Linked DNA regions of Homo sapiens: region 2 is linked to region 1. Evidence: promoter capture Hi-C in human tissues and cell types (Jung and others, 2019). All regions are on one chromosome and are shown on one strand. Each heading gives the region's core, a stretch centred on a gene start or on the middle of the fragment in contact. The rest is flanking DNA. Distances are from core to core; before and after follow the strand shown.

What was found. The method cuts DNA at HindIII sites, captures the fragments that hold promoters and counts their contacts. A contact is called where the count stands out against the background at its distance.
Region 2: a contact is called between the fragment with the promoter of HOXB5 here and the fragment with the promoter of CDK5RAP3 in region 1, in 2 of the 25 tissues and cell types used here (IMR-90 fibroblasts and lymphoblastoid cells).

The regions. Positions count from the first base shown.
Region 1 is chr17:47,968,228-47,973,578 of GRCh38, forward strand. CDK5RAP3 (CDK5 regulatory subunit associated protein 3) reads left to right here and starts at 2,886. Exons shown (of 14, transcript NM_176096.3): 1 at 2,886-2,925; 2 at 3,135-3,180; 3 at 5,292-5,351. The coding sequence starts at 2,920. RefSeq lists a silencer at 2,537-2,826 and an enhancer at 3,248-3,875. The HindIII fragment of the contact is 4,856 bases long and covers 1-3,061 here.
Region 2 is chr17:48,592,529-48,597,879 of GRCh38, forward strand. It overlaps HOXB5 (homeobox B5), which reads right to left and starts at 1,251. Exons shown (of 2, transcript NM_002147.4): 1 at 593-1,251. The coding sequence starts at 1,154. The region is part of intron 1 of HOXB-AS3 (HOXB cluster antisense RNA 3); the gene reads left to right. HOXB6 (homeobox B6) reads right to left here. Exons shown (of 4, transcript NM_018952.5): 3 at 5,208-5,351; 4 at 3,223-4,144. The coding sequence ends at 3,885. RefSeq lists a silencer at 875-924 and enhancers at 1,181-1,688, 1,390-1,459, 1,689-2,194, 3,237-3,908, 3,966-4,135 and 1 more. The HindIII fragment of the contact is 8,811 bases long and covers 1-5,351 here.

The DNA of each region.
Region 1 (5,351 bases), core at 1,636-4,135:
GATCCCTGAAAAGGCCCTTAATTCAGCTCTATGAGCCATTTTCAGAGCAGTTTTTCAATCCGTTCTATAATAATAATGATCATATATGACATATATATATATTTTGAGATGGAGTCTCACTCTGTTGCCCAGGCTGGAGTGCAGTGGCGCAATCTGGGCTCATTGCAACCTCCGCCTCCCAAGTTCAGGTGATTCTTCCGCCGCAGCCTCCCGAGTAGCTGAGTAGCTGGGACTGCAGGCATGCACCACCACGCCGGGATGGTTTTTGTTTTTGTTTGTTTGTTTGTTTTTTGTTTTGTTTTGTTTTTGAGATGGAGTCTCACTCTGTCGCCCAGGCTGGAGTGCGGTGGCGCAATATCGGCTCACTGCAACCTCCGCCTCCCGGGTTCAAGCAGTTCTCCTGCCTCAGCTTCCTGAGTAGCTGGGATTACAGGCGTACGCCACCACGCCCAGCTAATTTTTGTATTTTTAGTAGAGACAGGGTTTCACCATGTTGATCAGGCTGGTCTCAAACTCCTGACCTCGTGATCCACCCGCCTCAGCATCCCAAAGTGCCGAGATTACAGGCGTGAGCCACCGTGCCCAGCGTGTTTTTTGTTTTTTTCAGAGATGGGATTTCACCATGTTGATCAGGCTGGTCTCGAATTCCTGACCTTAGGTGATCCGCCTGTCTCAGCCTCCCAAAAGTGCTGGGATTACAGGCGTGAGCCACCGCGCCTGGCCCATATATGATATTTCATATAGGGAGAGTTTACAAAGCATGAGAAATACAGCCACAGTATGTTGTAAACTGTCATGAGTTACTAGTGTGTTTATTTAAGCCTCTAAACAGAAATACCCTGAGATAGGATAGCTGTTATCTCCATGTGGGGAAACTGTGGCTATCAGATAGGTTATAGAAATGGTCCAAGACCTCACTGGGCAGAATCTAGGTCTTCCTGCTGCTGTATCACACTATGCATTTCAATCAAAAATTTACTAAGCCTCAAGTGTTGTGCTGTGGTGAACAGGAGCTGGGGAAGGAATATTTAGAAATGGCATACCCAGGGCCGGGCGCGGTGGCTCACGCCTGTAATCCCAGCACTTTAGGAGGCTGAAGCGGGAGAATCACGAGGTCAGGAAATCGAGACCATCCTGGCTAACACGGTGAGACCTCGTCTCTACTAAAAATACAAAAAAATTAGCCGGGCGTGGTGGCGGGCGCCTGTAGTCCCAGCTACTGGGGAGGCTGAGGCAGGAGAATGGCGTGAACCCAGGAGGCAGAGCTTGCAGTGAGCCGAGATCGTGTCACTGCACTCCAGCCCGGGCGACAGAGCGTGACTCCGTCTCAAAAAAAAAAAAAAAAAAAAAAAAAAAAGAAAAGGCATACCCAGCGCTGTGAGATCCTGGGGGATCTGGCCTCAGCCTACCCTCCCTCCTTACTCTACCCACTTCTTGGCCAATCTCAGACTCTCCCTTAGCTTCAGCCACCACTCGGACCACAGATTAGCCAGCTTGTGACTCTCCAAGCTGTATCTCCAGCCCCGACAACTCCCTCGAACTCCAAAATTATAGACCCAAGTGCCTTCTGCACACTTTCCATCTGGGGGTCTCCCAGCATTGCCAGACTAGGTTCAAAGCTAGACCCCCTCCTCCCCAACACCTGCTCAGCATCCTGCATCCCTGTCTCAGGTGGTGGTTCCCACCTAATCACCTAGGTGTCATCCTTAGTGTCTCTCTCCTCCACCCAAACAGCCAATCAATTGCCAAGTCCTATACATTTTCCTCCTAAATATTCCTCAGATCCAGCCCTTCCCCTTCCTCCTCATATCTTGTGTCCCAGCTCAGGCTATAATCCCTCGATAACAACCTCCTTCCAGCCTCCTTGTCCCCAGTCTTATCTCCCATGCATCCATCATCCCAGCAGCCTATCTGTACAGGTTCCTCCCTGCCTCAAACCCCTTCTGTGATTCCTCTGTCTGAAGGGATGAAGTCCAAGTTCCTTAATAAGTCTCCCTTTGATATGGCCTTTCCACCCTTACAGCCTCTCCTCTAGCCACTCGCTGCCTCAAACCATCTACGGTATAGAGGTTGGCCTGCCCGCGGAGCCGACTTCATCTTGAAATTCTTCATCATTTTGTAACAAGCAGCTGTGCATTTCCATTTTGCACTGGACCTCACAAATTACGTTGCCCGTCCTGCCTGCCTGTTGTTGCTTGCACCCCTCTTGCAGTTTGTGGCCACCTAAGCTTTGTCTGTGTAGTCTCCTCCACCTAAAACTCCTCTTCCCACATCACCCAGCTATCTTCAGCTCTTCGTTTAGACTCAATGTAGGTGTTCTCTTTGGGACGTCTCACCGACTCTCTTCCTTCCCCTTCCCTGCCCTAATCGCCCAACACGTTGCAGGTGCTCAACCATGTCTATTAGAGAAACTGAATGAGGAGGCAAAGCATGACAAGTGCCACAAGAGACCTGCACACTGCTCTGGATGGTAAAGCGACGCAAGGAGGGAAGAAGGTATTTGCAACGGCCTCCCAGATCGGCGCTAGGACCCCGCCAGCAGACGTCTCAATCTGCGTGGAGAAGACCCAGTGCCCGCCAGGGGAAGCGGCTGCCAGGCTGGGCTCTCGAGCGCCGCCTGTCGCAATCCCACGGCCGCTGCAGCGCACCCCCTCCCGTCCCCTGCCCTGAGCCCGCCTCGCGTCTCCAATTGGCTGTCTCCATTCTCCCGCCCCTCCCGAGCTCAGCCATTCGGAGCCTGGGGTGGGCGGGGCTTGAGGCCTGAGTGGAGCGTAAACCCTGATTGGCTGTACGGAAGGCGGCGACGTGGCCGAAGGATGCCCGTTTGTGTCTAAACGGAGGCTCGGCCACAACGCCACTGGATTGGTGGTAGGGCGGGGCGGGCCACAGTCTCCAGCCTGAAGCGGAAGTGGAGGAAAGATGGAGGTGTGGGGACAGGAGCTGGGTGTGCTGGGGACTGGCCGCGGACCCCTAACCTGTGTCTCCGGTCTCCCTCCGGAAGCGGCTCAACCCAGCCCATCGCTCTGGCCCCGTTCTGGCCCTGCAGGGTGGTGGTTGGGACGTTGAAATGAGCGCGCGAGTGGTACGTCCTCTCTCCGCGCTCACGCCCCCCTCCTCACCGTGTTTCCCGCCAGGACCATCAGCACGTGCCCATCGACATCCAGACCAGCAAGCTGCTCGGTAGGAGGGGGCGCCACCGCGCAGCTGGCTGTCGGGGGGAGGCCTGTGCGTTGCCCCCTGTGTCCAATAGCCGGGAGCTCTGACCCCTGAAAGCCTGAGTCGAGATGCTGACCACTGGCCTCGTTCTATGCCCCATCTGTGGCCAGACCTGCTTCCCTGATAGCAGCGGGAACGAACCATATGTACAGTCTGTTTGACCTGCGTTTTCTCCTTTAATAACATATGTTATCGTATCATTCAGGGACAGGATAAATGACTCGCTTTAAAAACAGTCAACCACTGCCGGGCGCGGTGGCTCATGCCTGTAATCCCAGCACTTTGGGAGGCCGAGGTGGGCGAATCACCTGAGGTCAGGAGTTCGAGACCAGCCTGACCAACATGGAGAAACCTTGTCTCCATGTCTCCATGACTAAAAATACAAAAAAATAAAAATAAAAAGTAGCCGGGCATGGGAGCACATGCCTGTAATCCCAGCTACTCGGGAGGCTGAGGTGGGAGAATTGCTTGAACCCCGGAGGCAGAGGTTGCGGTGAGCAGAGATCTCACTATTGCACTCCAGCCTGGGCAACGAGAGCGAAACTCCATCTCAAAAAGAAGACAAAAAACAGTCAACCACTAAGTGGCACATCTGAATTGGAACTTAAGTCTGTCTGACCCACTGTCCATGCCTTTTGCATTATGCCAGGAAAAAAAAAAAAAACCTCATTTAAAAAGCTTCCACCTCCCCCTTGATTTTAGGAGGAAGAGGGACCTAAGACCCAGTTGCAAATGAAAACCTTTTAGTGTCCAGGCCATCTCCAGGTTGTCTGTATGGGGCTTACATACTTCCTCCCCAGTTCATAGTCAGGGAAGGCCTCTTCATCTGATCACACAGCTCCTGGCATTTTAAAATGCTTATTGGATTCATGGATTTGATGCCAATCTTGTCCTTAAGATGGTGTCTGTTTGACTACCCCAGTCCGTTGCTTCTAGTTCTGTGACATCAACAGAATTTTTCTTTCTGAAAACTTTACAGGAATATAGCAGAGAGAGTATAACTGATACTAGTGTGGGACCCCAGCGTTTGACCGGTTGGCAGAGTTCAAGTTCTGAATTCACCACTCTGTAGTGCCATTTAGTCAGTCCTGCTTGGTGGTCACGGGGGAAGCTTCTTTAGCCTCCCTTCAGATTTGTACTGGCCCTTCAGCCCATGTGCAGTCTTGGTGTGTGAGCTTGTTCTTGGTCATGAAAAGGACCAATAAAATGACCACCATTCATTGAGGGTTTTTTTTTGTACCAGGTGCTGTTTTAGGCACTTGACATGATAAAAATGATCACTGTCATTTTTTGAGTCCTTGCCGTGTCTCAGGCACACTGTTCAGTGTTTTACCTGCATTCCCTTTTCTAGTCAGTGTCTTATTATTCCCCATTTTACATGTGGGAAAACTGAGGCACAGAATAGTAGACTTGCTCAAGAAACTTGATAACGAGAACCCAGGACCATCTGACCACAAAGCTCAGCTCTTAGCTCTCACTGAGGAAATATGCATGGCTCTGAAGCCACAAATCTGGGCCCAGACTTTGAGAGGTCAGTCCCATTGGTATTCACATGTACAGGGTGGTACTTCACTGTTCACAACAGAGTCATGTTATCTAGTCCTTAGGGCGCTGTAGGTATTAGGGGCTTTGCAGCTGTTCATTCATCCAGTACTTGGCATAACCATCTTGTATTTTCCATTGTCATGGTTAACCCCAGCCCTGAGGAAATGGAAGTTGAGCAGCATCCTCTTGTCAGGAAGAAAGATATAATTACCCATAGAAGCAAAAATATTATGGGGAATTGAGAATGGTCAAAAGTGGCACTTTCAGGACCAATTTAAACTTTTTGTTATCCCTGTGTTGAGGCAATTGCTCTATAAAAATCACACTGCTAATGAAGTCAGATTGTCAGAGCCTGGTTTAGCCCCAGGCATCTCTTTGGGCTTGTCTTTATTCCCATCTTCCCATGACCCCCATACTTTAACCAATGTAAAGAAAACTTTTAGACTAATTTCAGTGTATTTCACTCGAATTAGTGATGGAATTTTGGTGATGTGAATGGGAATGCTCTAATTTGGGTGCTTCTCATGTAGATTGGCTGGTGGACAGAAGGCACTGCAGCCTGAAATGGCAGAGTCTGGTGCTGACGATCC
Region 2 (5,351 bases), core at 1-2,500, 620 kb after region 1:
CGGGGGAGCAGGACCCAGGCGTCCCGGCACCCAGCTCACCACAGCTCCAATCCTCTCTACTCCAGATGCCCACATTCAAGCTCGATTTCTGCACCCCTTTCTACTGCATCCCCCACTTCTGCAGGCAGCCAGTGCGCCCGGCTTTGTCTCTTGCTCGCTCCTAGTGCCTCACCCTTGGCTGGGCTCAGGCGGCCGCTCGCCCCGGGAGGGAGGAGAGCGGTTGCACTTTTGCCCCGGAAAGCTCCTTTTACTGTTCACCCCTTCTTTGCTAGCGACAGTCTCAAAATTTCAGGGGTAAGCAGGACCCTTCCCCACATTATATGAACCCCATCCTTTATCCTAAAGCTGGTTCAGCTGCGCTAATAAAAACCTAAGCCGAAGCTGGAAACAAATTATTAAAAATACCCCCCTCTTAACAGAGAGACCCTTTTTGGCTCTGTCTACGAAGCTATGAGGCCCCTCTTAGATACTTCTCCCCCTTAGAAAAATGAATCTATATTTAGGGTAAAGCCAAGCTCTCCTTGTCCCCCCGATCCCACCCCAAAACGCAGAGAAGGAAAGCCGAGAAGACAAAAAAGAGAGAGAGAATTACCATGGCTGATGTGAAGCTTCCTCATCCAGGGGAATATTTGCGGAGTCTGCCCCTCGGGCGCGGCTGTGGAGGTGGCCATGGGCTCTGGCTGCGCCCGAGCTAGGCTGGGGCTGCTTAGCTGGCTTGCCGCTTCCTCAGGCTCCGAGGACGCGCTGGCCTCGTCTATTTCGGTGAAATTGGCGCTGGAGCTGGCTGAGGTCGCCTGGTCGGAGGGGGACGAAGCAGAGGGCTTGGCGCCGTGGCTGTCGCCGTTGGTGCAGGGCAGGGACTCGGGCGAGGACAGGGAGCAGCTCGAAGCCGCTTGCCTGAAGCGGGGCTCCTGGGCGGGCGCGGGGAAGGCGCGCGAGCTCTCGCCCACCGCCCCAAAGTGGCTGGAGGAGGCCGAGGAGCGGTTGACGCTGAGGTCCATCCCATTGTAATTGTAGCCGTAAGAGCCGGTGTGCATGGCAGCGGGATCCCTGTAAGAGCCGCTCAGAGAGCTGCCACTGCCATAATTTAGCAACTGATAGTCCGGGCCATTTGGATAACGCCCCGAGAAGGAGTTTACAAAGTACGAGCTCATTTGGGTGATTTTGGAGGGCTTGATTTGTGGATCGTGGTCGTTATAACCCTGTGCTTCACGATTTATGATGTATTAATGAATTATAGCGATGCACTGTACTTCGTTTTGCTATGTATGCGGCCAAATATGGGGGGGGGGTTGGAAGGGGGGTGGGGGGCGTTAGGGAATCACGTGCTTTTGTTGACCAGTCGTAAATTCTCGCTGATGACCTCAAGAGGTAATTCATGCTCTATGGTTACAAATAATGACGATCCGAGAATCGTTAGGGCCGATTCAATGCGAGCCTCCGAGAGAGGGGGAAAAAAGGAGAAGGGGGAGAAACAGAGAGAAGGTTGGCTTTGGCCTCTGAGCAGAGCGCGCCACCTCCCGGCGACCGACGGGAGCGCGGGCGTGAGACCGCCATGGCGGCGGGCGGCTGCCTCCCTGCTGGCTCCCTGCAGGCTCCCTGCAGTCGCCGGGAGAGAAAGAAACCCGGCCAAGGCTCAGCCACAGGGTTGAGCCTTTTAGAGCAGGGGTTGGGCTTTTTACCCACTTTCTTGTGGGTGGGGTTAGCCTCTCTATTTGGTTCTTTCTCCCTACATCATCATTGTCGTTATTATTTTAACTTTGGATGAGAAGATCAAAGATAGAGTTGCTTTTCCCTTTCTTGGGCTTTGCAAGTCTCCGAATTGGAGGCGGAAATGGGGGAAGGGTTGGAAGTTGTGTGTGAAAAACAATTATTGCAACGGGTTTTCCCCAGGAGCTTAGTCCGGCCTGCATCCTGGTGGAACTGCTGTTACCGGTCCACAGCGCCCAGGCCGAGCCGGCAGGGCTGGGCGGGAGGCTTGAAAAAGAAGGAGAAGCGTTCACTTCTCCTGGGCCACTTGGAAGTTCGAAATCCCCTTCCGGACCTCCTTGGTGGTCCTTAGCCCAGGCGTGGGGAGTGACAGAGCAGGACAGGGACCCCAGAAACCGAGCACAGCTGGGGCTAAGCGGCCTAGTTGCCGAAAAGACTGCAGCGGCCACCGCGTCTGCTGCTTAGTTTGAGTAGTAACATGTGTCTGAGAGTTTGTAAAGCGGGATCCCTTCCCCTCCTCCTCGGCTATTGCATTCGGAGGCCCCACTACAGGTCCCTCACTCGCAGCTAGGCAGTTTGAGAATTTGCCTGGTGGCAGCCGCCTTCCCGGAAAAGGGGTTCCAAGGACCCGCATGCTTTGCTGAGCACGCTGGGCGGCCAGAGACCGCCGCAGCTGGTCTCCTATTAGGAGGGGACTATTTTCTTTAAAAATAAGAAAGGAAGCGAGAGGGCGGAGGAATAAAGGAAAACAGTGACCGCAGCTTGCCTTCTGGGTGCCGGTGCAAGCAGAGAGAGAATGAGCCATTCTGGGTTGAGAGGATGACACTAAAAGCCCCATCACCTGGCCTCCTGCCCTGGGGTCTCCAAGGAGCAAGGGAAAGTTGTGGCCTTCGGCCTGTGCCTGGCTGGTGGCTTTACATTCCCCTACTTGAGGCTGATCTCCTACTTGAGGCTGATCTGCTACTTGAGGTGGGAAGGGGCACCTGGAGCCTTCAGCTGCAGGGTGAGAGATACCCAGTGGCCCCATTTTTCAGTCTCCAGAGCCACAGGCCAGGAGCGGAGGGCCAAGGCTGGCGAAAAAACCTGGCCATGTGGACGGGCCAAAGACCAGGGGTCGCTGCGAAGGTGAGGACAGAAAAGCGCTGCAGAGGCCCCCAGACTATGGCTCCGTCTCCGCCAGAGAGCTTTAGGGGCCTCAGTGGCTCCCTTAGTGCTGTGTATACACGAGGAAAGGCTAGAGAATGAGAGGGACACAGCACCTCTCCATCCCCCAAGTCTGCACGGGGAGAAGCGGCTGTGAGCCTCAGCACCAGGGAAACGCAGCGCTGGGGCCTGGGCAGGACTGATCGCTCCAGCCTTTATCTCAGCTGTAACTTCCCAGTCGAACAGGGCTCGCTTCGGCGGGCCAGGGCTCTCGCCTTTGCTGAAGAATTCTGGCTCAGGAAAGATGGAGAGGCTGGGGGTTGAGGAGAGAGGAAAAAATGGCAGGGGAGGATTGGAGGTGACCGAGCGTCGAGTTTTCACATCTTTATTATTGTTGTTGTTGTTGTTATTATTATTATTATTATCATCATCATCATCATCATCATCATCGAAGTATTTCACGTCCAGAGCTAAGACAAGACTACAAACACAACACATAGAAAATTAATAAAATAGAACTTTGTTTTCTTCTGAGGCTCCTCTTCTTACTTCTAGGTAGTATGTGCTCCTTCCAGTGGCTTTGGGGAGGGGGTGGGAGAGACGACAGGTCTGGGATCAGGGAGTCTTCAAGGCCCCCGCTGAGGGGACAGCGAATCTACCATTGAACCGTGCACGGGGGACATGGACAAAATGAGACGCGACAGGGACAAGAGCATTTTGCTCTGCTTCCAGGAAACATCAAGTGAGTCCGCTCCTCAGTTCTCACCAGGAAGCCTGATCAGGCTGAGGCGAGTTCCTCGGGAAGGAAGGGCGCGCGGGATGCTGGGTGGGCTCGAGTAGTGAGGCCTCAGAGCACCCGCCGGGAGCTGTGCGGGCGGGGGCGTCCAGGAGAGCGCTGGGCCCCGCCTGTCTGCGCCGGAGAGCAGGTCTCCTGGCTCCCCCACCCGAGAGCCTTCCTTCCCGGGTCTCTCTGACGCCCTCGGCTCCCCACAGGCCTTTCCCCTCGCGTCCTCCCTCCCTTTCCAGCACCTTCACTCGGCCTGTTTTTCTTCCTCCTCCTCGGCACTGAGCTGAGACGCGCTGAGCAGTTTGCTCTCCTTTTTCCACTTCATGCGTCGGTTCTGGAACCATATCTTGATCTGCCTCTCCGTCAGGCACAGGGCGTGCGCGATCTCGATGCGCCGCCGCCGCGTCAGGTAGCGATTGTAGTGAAACTCCTTCTCCAGCTCCAGCGTCTGGTAACGTGTGTATGTCTGGCGGCCTCGCCGGCCGCTGGGCCCAAAGGAGGAACCTGTTACGCAGAGTGGAGATGCTGAGGCCTGCGGTCACCGGGCCCAGGACCCCCTCCCCTAGTCGACCCTCGAACACAGACTCCAGCCAGTACCGGGATGCCCTCTATTCTGCCGGCTCCCTTCCCCCGTTTCGCACTCCTCCAGCGCCCCCTCCAGATTCCCTCCTAGTCTCCTAGGCCTGTGCCGTCTGTCTAGACTCTAGATGGGGGAGGGGAGGAGCAGTTTGAACTCCCACCTGAGCCTGGGGGGAGGGGCTGGTCAGGTGTGTCTCTTCCTAGTTGCATCTTGTCTTTCCCTCCCTTTCCATCCATCTTGTTCCCACCCCCCGTCATCCCCCCAACCCAATGATAAATCCAGGCCGTTAATCCGTAATGACGTAGATCGATCCATAGTCCACATTAACGGCTCCTCACTTTCGAGTCCGGCTAATGGACATCAGTTGGGACTTAAGGCCAACAAATAATCCAACCTGAGACCCCGCGCCTGTTTCTCCCTCTCTCGCTCCGCCTGCTCCCTCTCTCTTCCTTCCCCTTATTCCTCCTCCCTCCTCTGACTACCACCCCTTTCCTGGTGCCTCATCTTGCCCCAGCTCCCCACCCACAGGGAAACACAGTCCCAGACAGACTCAACTCTTTCTCTTCAGCGTCACCCCCTACCCCCTTGCATGACGCACTCCGTTTTTAATGGAGCCGTCTTTGGTTGGGGAACCCTACCAGGGCTGGGAGAGGGGGGTTGGGGGCTCAAAGTAAAGCCAAGCCAGTGACTGCAGGCTCCTGCTCCCTTCCCTGTCCTGGAACCCCGGCTCTGGCCAGGCGCCCCAGGAGAGCACACTTGCTCCCCATGGCTCCCAGTGCGGCTGGGACTTTGCAAACTTTGTAACTCCTGCCTAATAGGGGACACAGCGAGAGACCCCCGGCCGGCGCCCAATCTTCTTCTATCTCCTAACTGAGATGCCCACCCAGCACCCTGTGGGAGATTGGGGCAGGGGGCGCTCACTAGTTCTGTGTCCCGGGGTGGGCGCCCAGGGGAGCCGGGGCGACGGCGACGGGAAGTCTCACTCACTGTTGCACGAATTCATCCGCTGCATCCACGGGTAGACCGGAGTGGAGCACTTCTGCTCTTCTGTCTCGCCGAACACGCTCTTGTCCTGCGCGCAGTCCGACTTCCGCGGCTCGGGGTGGAACGGGGGCTGCTCGTCGGCGCCGG